Regions from separate parts of the Homo sapiens genome. Here region 2 is linked to region 1. Evidence: promoter capture Hi-C in human tissues and cell types (Jung and others, 2019). All regions are on one chromosome and are shown on one strand. Each heading gives the region's core, a stretch centred on a gene start or on the middle of the fragment in contact. The rest is flanking DNA. Distances are from core to core; before and after follow the strand shown.

Evidence for each region. The method cuts DNA at HindIII sites, captures the fragments that hold promoters and counts their contacts. A contact is called where the count stands out against the background at its distance.
Region 2: a fragment that was not itself captured here is called in contact with the fragment with the promoter of PPP1R26 in region 1 in 1 of the 25 tissues and cell types used here (lymphoblastoid cells).

Annotation. Positions count from the first base shown.
Region 1 is chr9:135,477,598-135,481,932 of GRCh38, forward strand. It overlaps PPP1R26 (protein phosphatase 1 regulatory subunit 26), which reads left to right and starts at 2,185. Exons shown (of 4, transcript NM_014811.5): 1 at 2,185-2,425. RefSeq lists silencers at 2,707-2,766, 2,777-2,826. The HindIII fragment of the contact is 17,940 bases long and covers 1-4,335 here.
Region 2 is chr9:134,630,743-134,634,975 of GRCh38, forward strand. No RefSeq gene overlaps it. Among named protein-coding and RNA genes, the nearest start is that of COL5A1, 8.9 kb to the right of the region's middle. The HindIII fragment of the contact is 7,228 bases long and covers 1-4,233 here.

The sequences.
Region 1 (4,335 bases), core at 935-3,434:
GAGTAAGACCCTGTCTCAAAAAAAAAAAAAAAAAAAAAAAAAGGTTGAACAAACAAAAAACCAAAATCCAAAGTCAAAAGAAAAATGACAGAAAAATAAATGCAATGTACAAGAGTATATTGTACTACTGTACAATATTCTGTGTTATTGTACTGTTGTACAATACACTTTTTTTCTGAGACAGAGTCTCGCTCTGTCACCCAGGCTGGAGTGCTGTGGCACCGTCTCGGTTCACTGCAACCTCCACCTCCTGGGTTCAAGCAATTCTCCTGCCTCAGCCTCCCGATTATCTGGGATTACAGGCACCCGCTACCACACCCGGTTAATTTTTGTATTTTTTAGTAGAGACGAGGTTTCATCATGTTAGCCAGGCTGGTCTCAAACTCCTGACTTCAGGTGATCTGCCCAACTTGGCCTCCCAAAGTGCTGGGATTACAGGGGTGAGCCGCCGCGCCCGACCATACATTGCATTTACGCTCTTGTACAGAGTAGCATACAGCACAGAGAAGAGCTAAATTCCTTACGGTAACAAGCTCTTAGAATCCCTAAGAAAAAGACACACAGCCCAACAGAAAAATAAAAAATGGGCAAAGAACACAGACAGGCAATATTCCAAATGGCCAATAATAAAATGAAAAGATGTTCAACATCACCAGCAGTCAAAGAAATTAGGATTCAAGTGATGAAAAGGGCTGTTTCGCCTATCAGACTGCCAAAGACATAACGCAATGACATATCTCAGGGCTGGCAAGAGGACAGGCAAGCGGGCATGCCCGCTCACCAGTGGGTGGACGGCAGGCTGGCCCCGCATTTCTGGAGGGCATTTTGGCAAAATGCAGCATAGTCTTTGGCCCGCCGGCCTCTTCTAGGGATTTGCCCGCAGGAAATGCTCAGAGCCGCTCTAAGGAGGCATCATGAAAGCTGTTCACCACAGCACTGTTTTAAAAACTGTGAAGCAGCATGCCAAAACCTTAACAGCCCATGTCTCTGGGAAGTCACCTTATTAATTAGATCATCTCCCCAAAGTTTGGTAATGAAAGAGTATTATTTCATGAGAAAAAAAAAATTGCTTTTTGAAAAAATTCACGAAGGCATTAAAACAATTCTTTAATGGGTTTCCTGACCCAAAACTGGCCCTCCAGCTTCCCAGGCTGGCATGACTAGAAGCACCCCTCCAAGGCAAGTCTCTGATTTTGATCCTATCAAATCTCTGACACTTTCTAGACAGGAACCGAACCCACAAATTCATCTCCCAGACACGTGTGGATCAGGGCCCAGGGGGCTTACAGAAGCAGCGCGGTGCCCCTGCGCACCATCTGCCCCTTCCACGAGTGGGCGCTGAGGGAGGATCCAGTCGGGTCTGCCCGTTCCCCGCCGCCCGGGGATGCTGAGCACACCCGGGCCACCGCCAGCCTCGGGCACACACCCTGGACCTTTTATAAAACAAAACTGGGAAGACTTTCAAGGTCACATGGTCAGTGCACAGCAGAAGCAGAAACAGCAGCGGCCTCAAGGTCCGGGGCAGTTCCTAGAAACTGTTCCCTCCCCCGAACCTGGCGGCAGGTGTGCTCGAGGAGCCGCCGCCCCGGGCAGGTCGTGCGTCCACTCCCCGCCGCAAGCTCGGGTGGGGCAGCCGCGGGGACACGCGGGGGCCGCCCCCGACCCCGGCCCAAGGCTGTGGGGCTGGAGGGGCGGGCGGGCCGGTCTCAGCCCGGAGCCCCGCGTGAACTTCGGGGAGGAACTCGGTTGGCGCCGGGGCCCCGCACGCTCCCTTCCCGCGGCTCCGAGCGCTTTCCCACGGCCACGCCCCCCGCGCCCAGAACTTCCCGGCGACCCCGCGCCCCCTGCGCGCCCCCCGGAGGTGGCCGCGGTACGGGAGGCGGGCAGCACGGGGCTCGGCCCGGCCCAAGCGCCTTCGCCCCGCACCCCGCGGAGGGGGCCGCGTCCGAACCGGGCGGGGCGGGGCGGGGGCGTCCCCGGGGCGCGGGCGCGGCGGCAGGTGGGCGCGCTCTCGCGGGCGGGGGTCCGGCCGGGCCGCGCGCCTCCCCCGGAACTCGGCCGTGCCATTCCCATGATGCCCAGCCACGGGCACGGCTTCCGGAGTGCGGCCGCCGCCGCCACCGTCCGGTAGGTCGCGGGGAGGGGGCGGCTTGGGGGGGTCGCCCCGCCCCCCGCCCCGCCCCTCCCCTCCCGCGCTTCCCACGGCGCGGCCCGGGCGCGGGGCGGCGGCAGCGGCGGCGCGCGGGGAGGCGGGGAGGCGGGGGGCCCGGCCGGACGCCCCTGCGCCCCCTCCCCGCGCCCCGGCCGAGGGCGGAGCGCGCTGGCCCTGCAGCCTCCGGCCCGCCCCCGGCCCGCCGCCTCCCCCGGGACGTGGGACGCGGGCGCAGGCGGGGTCCGCGCGGCGGGCGGCGGGGGACGGGCGGAGGTGAGCGGGTGCAGGGCCGGGGCCGGGGGGCTCGGGGGCTGGGAAGCTGGGGGGTCGGGGACAGGAGGGCCAGCCAGGCCGGGGCCGGCGCGCCGTGCAGGCCGCGGCGGGCGGGCGGCGGGGGCTCCCCGAGGCAGGCGGACGGGGATCGGCGCCGGGGCTGCTCCGTTCCCCGGGCGGGGATCCTGTCTCTGGCCTCCGTGCGACTCTCGGCCCGCGCGCCCCGCGCTCCTGGAGCCCCAGGTGAGGCGCAGGTGAGGGCCCGCGGTGGGGAGCTTTGGCCCGGCCCGGGGCGGCCGCTGCCCTCCGAGAATGGCCGCGGCCCGGCCGGCCTGGAGACTGCGGTTCACGCCCTGCGCCAGGCGGAGCTTCCGGGAGGGTGGCCGCTCTCCCGGGCCCCAAGCTCGCTAGTCCTCGGATCCCAGAAACATAACTCCGGGGGTGCAGACCTGCTTGGAGGCCCGGCCTCTTCCCTGGGAGGCGTTCACTCCCGCCGGGCCGAGGACCAGGTCGCCGATCCCAGCGGCTAGGGTGAGCGCGCCCTCGGGGAGGGGAGCTCCCTTGGGGGACCCTGCCCAGCCCGCAGGCCGTGAGTAGCCCAAGCTTGGGAGTCAGGGGAGGTCGGGCCGGGGCAGCCGGGAGGGGCTCACCTTGCCTTCAGTTCCCAAGCACAGGAAATGGCGGTGCAGCTTTGCTGGGGGACGCTTGTAGTGAGGTTGTAAAATTGCAGCTTCTGGAAGGCTGGGAGCTGAATTCTAGCCCACGCCCACTTCTGGGTGGCTGGAGCGGGTCCTCCTGCTGCCCCGCCCGCTCCTGCACCGGGGCTCCTCTCCCTGGCCTGCAGACCCTGGCCTCCCTACCCTGGGGGGAAACCCCACCTGGGAGGTAAGACCGCTGGCTGAGCTGCTTTTCGGCCAACCGAGAAATGTAGAGTATTTGGGGGCGTTTCTCACAGGTGGGCAGACTGTTAGGATGGCGAGGGCCCAGTGTGGGTGCTTTGGTTCTCTCCAGAAGGTTGATGTCTGGACCGAGAAGGTACCCGAGTGTTCTCCACCGCTTCCTAAAATCTGACACCGTGTGGCCTTGGGGTGCAGGTGCTGGGTGTCCCCACAGCCACCCTCAAGACCGTATCCTGAGGCAGCAATTTGACAAAGCCTGCACCTCTGGCTTGGGCCCACACCTATCTCTAAGGACTGATTAGGGGGCTTTTCTTGTTTTTTTTTTTTTTTTTTTTTTAGAGCCAGAGTCTCGCTTTGTCGCCCAGGCTGGAGTGCAATGGCTGATCTCGGCTCACTGTAATCTCCGCCTCCCTGGTTCAAGCGATTCTCGTGCCTCAGCCCCTGGAGTAGCTGGAACTACAGACGTGGGCTCCCACGCCCAGCTAATTTATGTGTTTTTAGTAGAGATGGGGTTTCGCCATGTTGGCCAGGCTGGTCTCGAACTCCTGGCCTCAAGTGATCCACCTGCCTCCACCTCCCAGAGTGCTGGGATTACAGGTGTGAGCCACTATCCCCGACCCAGGGGGCTTTTCAAGAATGATTCATCTCGCATAATGTTTTAAAGCCACAAGCTGTCCTGGGGAGACGACCCCCCTCGATTTTTTTTTTTCTTTCTGAGATGGAGTCTCGTTCTGTCTCCTAGGCTGGAGTGCAGTGGCGCGATCTCGGCTCACTGCAACCTCTGCCTCCTGGGTTCAAGCAATTCTCCTGTCTCAGCCTCCCCAGTAGCTGGGATTACGGGCACACGCCACCACGCCCAGCTAATTTTTGTATTTTTAGCAGAGGAGGGGTTTCACCATATTGGCCAGGCTGGTCTCAAACTCCTGACCTCAGGTGATCCACCTGCCTCAGCCTCCCAAAGTGCTGGGATTACAGGCGTCAGCCACTGCACCTGGCCAGATTTTTTAATAC
Region 2 (4,233 bases), core at 497-2,996, 850 kb before region 1:
GAGAACCCTCCCGGAGGCTCAGCTTGTGGACCAGGCTCAAAGACTTTGAGGGTGGAATACATATGGCTTCTGGGTTCGACTCCAGTTTGAGAGTCATTTTAAATTCTATATCCGTTTTCACTTCCTCTTATGGAAGAAAATCTAATCTGGGAGGTATTTCCATTAAAAACATTGGTTTAATACTAAAAATGAAAACAAATAAAACTAGAGCCTGCTGGAAAAAATAACAGCCCCAGACGGCGTGCATCTCACATGAGCACTGCGCCACCGCACGCAGCCTCTGACCAAGCTCCCCACGTGTTCTTGCCAGCTTGAAGCCTCCTGTTGGAGACAGGTTTCTGCCCCCAACACCCAGGTGCACAGCAGGCACCATTTACCCCCCATTGCTCCAAACCATGGCTGTCTCCACCCCACTGTCTTCTCAGCCTCCAAAGCTGGAGAGCACAGGAAGACGTGGGGTACAGAGGCCTCTTTTATTGTGTCCTGGAATGTAGTGCATTGCGATGGTTAATATTGAGTGTCAACTGGATTGGATTGAAGGATGCAAAGTACTGTTCCTGGGCGTGTCTGTGGGGGTGTTGCCAAAGGAGATTCACAGTTGAGTCGGTGGACGGGGAGAGGCAGACCCACCCTCAATCCAGGTGGACAGCATCTAATCAGCTGCCAGCATGGCCAGGAGAAAGTAGGGAGAAGAACATGGAAGGAAAAGTCTGGTTGAGTCTTCTGGCCTCCATCTTTCCCCCATGCTGGATGCTTCCTGCCCTTGAACATTAGACTCCAAGTTCTTCAGCTTTTGGACTCTTGGATTTACACCAGTGATTTGCCAGGGGCTCTTGAGCCTTCGGCCACAGACTGAAGGCTGCATTGTGGGCTTCCCTACTTTTGAGGTTTTGGGACTCACACTGGCTTCCTGGCTCCTTAGCTTGCAGATGGCCTATGGTGGGACTTCACCTTGTGATCGCGTGAGTCAATTCTCCTTAATAAAATCCCCTTCATATGTACAGCTACCCTATTAGTGCTGTCCCTCTAGGGAACTCTGACTAATACGGGGTGGAAAGTGGCTCCCAAAATATACTCCCATGTCCCAGACCCCAAACCTGTGAAGATGGACTTATTTGAAAAAAGGTCCGTGCAGATGCAATCAGCTTAAGGACCTGAGATGAATGAGGACATCCTCCTGGATTAGCCAGGCTGGCCTGGCCCTAAATACCATCCCAGGTGTCCTTGTAAGATGGAGGCAGAGGAGGCCAAAACAACAGCATGCCCTGAAGACAGGTGGTGTGAAACGAAGGTAGAGATTGGAGCCACGCAAGGAAGGCCTGGAGCCGCCAGGACCGGAGCAGGCAGGGAGGAGCCTCTGAGGCACGTGACCCTGCAACATCTAGGTCTCGAGCCTCCAGAACCGGGAGAGAAACATTTCTGCTGTTTTAAGCCTCGCTGTTTGTGGTATTTTCTTATGGCAGCTCCAGGACTCCGAGGCAAGGACCATAATGAAGTTGGCGTGGCTCAAGGACTAGAATTTTTAACAAATGAAGCTTGGCTGTTTCAGCCAATGAGCAGGGCATCCTTGTCCCGCCTGAACACTGCCCTGAGAGGCAGAGGGTGTGCTCGCATGACGTCAAACAGCCTCAGGCCTTACCCCAGATGAGCGGCCGTGTATTCTCAGGGTCTGCCCGGGGGCCAGGATGCATGTAAATATGCATCCCACAGTGAAGCCCAAAAGTCATGGTGAGCTCCCTGCACTTGGGGGACCCTGTTCAAATTGCAGAATGACTTTCCCAAAGCCATGTAACACCCCAGGTCTTCAGTGTCTGTCGGCTCCCACCGCATGGCCATGGTGAGGGGATGGATGAGACAGTGAATCCATGAAACCTCTTAGCACCCGGCTCAGGAAGGGGGTCCCCAAGGCCCCATGGATGGGGATTTTTGATGAGGCTTGACGTAAGTGGGCCAGGAAGTATGGTTAGGGTGTGTGTAACCAGCAGGCAGCCCTGCCTCTCTGAGGGAAGAACGCGCCATCTGAATCTCATAGGTCACTCGCAGGGGCTCTTGCCAGACCCGGGCAGATGCGCTGGTTTCCTACCTGAGACAAATCAGTCCTATCTCAAGGCCTCAGTTTCTTTATCTGTGAAATGGGAACTGCGGCCTTTGCCTCCCTCACAGGGAAGTTAGTGCCAAGGGCCAGGAGAATGGGGGGTGGGTGGTTGCCATGTGTGAGACCATGAGAAGGAGGTGATGGTATGGAAAACAATATCCGAGAGAGGTTCCTGGATAGACTCTGTTTTCTGCTCCCTGTGGGAGGCCCTGCACAGGGTCCTGAGTGATGGGGTCCATGGTTCCCATGTGATATGGTTTGGCTCTGTGTCCCACCCAAGTCTCACCTTGAATTGTAGTAATCCCCACACGTCAAGGGCGGGACCAGGTGGAGGTCATTGAATCATAAGCGTGGTTTCCCCCATGCTGTCGTTTTGATAGTGAGTGAGTTATCGCAAAATCTGATGGTTTTATAAGGGGCTTCCCCGCTTTGCCCAGCACACATTCTCTCTCCTTCTGCTCTGTGAAGTGGTGCCTTCTGCCATGATTGTAAGTTTCCTGAAGCCTCCCCAGCCATGCGGAACTGTGCGTCAATGAAACCCCTTTTCTTTATAAATTACCCAGTCTCGGATATGTCTTCATAGCAGTGTGGGAACAGACTGATACACCACGTCTGGGAACAGGCAGGGCCACAGTGCCTACCTCGCGGGGGCCTGGCCAGAGGTGCACTCTGCAGCTGACAGTGTCCAAGGCAAAGGCCTTCAAATGATGAGAGGCACAGCCTGGGCGGGGTCCTGGGCACCGCTGCCCTTGCTGCTGGCGAGTCCCAGCCGATTCCTCCTCCACCGTGTACTGGAAGGCATCCCACCCGTCTCCCCTCTCCCTGGAAACCATAGCTGCCTCTGACTTGAGCCCCACCTCTTGTTCCTCTAAGCAATCCTCAACACTGAAGTCAGAGATCTTTCCAGGATGCAAGTATGACATAGCCTTCTCCTCTTAAAACCCTCTACGCATCCCCATTCTCCTTGGGAAGAATACAAACTCCCTGCCTAGACTGACTTGCCCTGTGCCAGCCACCCCGCTCTCCTGTCCCTGTGCCAGCCGCTCCACCCTCCTGTCTCCAGCCCCTCAGCCCCCAGGCCACCTCCTCCCTGTTCCATCACAGCCTCCTTGGAGTGGCCTTCTGTGGCTTCCTCTGGGCCTGGGCATGTGCATTCCCTCTGCAGGGGGAGAAGAGTCCAGGATGGCATCAGTGAGGGGTGGCACCTGGCCCCAAGATGCCCCTCCTCCTCTTGTATCCTTTTGGGACGTGCTCCCACAAGCGTCCCTACTTCTTGAACCCCTGGGCCCTGAACCTGGGCCCTGCTGACCCCTGTCTGCAGGGAGAAGTGTCTAGGAGGACAGTGTTTATGTCAGGGTCCTTGGTAGCTGACTCTGAGGCTCTGGGTTTTCTAGGCGGACTCTGGAAACAAGGCCTGTGGGGGCGAGGGCAGCAAGCCGGGGCGCAGGTGCATGCATTCTGCAGAGGCCTCATGGAGCCCCCCGACCGCAGGACTCGGAAGCAGGGACGGCCCTTCTGAGTTGTCCCACATTCAGGAAAAGGGACAGGATCTGGAACCTTCTTCCTGACCGGTCCTTGGGTGTGGGCTGCCCTTGAGCAGGGATGGGGTCTAACCTCCAGTAAAAGGTAGTTTAGGCAAGGAACTCAGCTGTTGGCTGTCAGCAAACCATGCTCTTGACAGAGGCCAGGGGAGTCTGGGCCCTGAGGGGGTCTGGGCCAACCCCCCTCCACAGTGTGGAGCACTGGCTCCTGACTTTTTGAGAAAGCCTTCAGCTAACAGGCATTTCTGCTGGTACCACTGCCTTATGCTCGTGGCGTCCTGGAGCGTCGCTGGGGCAGTTGGTCATGGAAAGAGCTCTGTGCCCAGATGGGGTGGGGCTGTCTCCAATTCCTACACCTCCGAGTTAAGTGGTTTCACCCTCTGAGACTCTGTTTCCCCAGTCGATCATGAAGCTGCCGGAAGCAGGACGGATGGAGCCTTTTCTGAGCCTGTGCTCTGTGCCCGGCACAGTCTGTGTGTTATCTCGGATAACCTCCACAGCATCCTATGCAGGGGTGCACTGCGGTCCCCACTTTCCAGAGGAGAACCTGAGCCAGCGTGGGGAGGCTGCAGCCTCAGGCCCCTTGCTGAGGCAGAC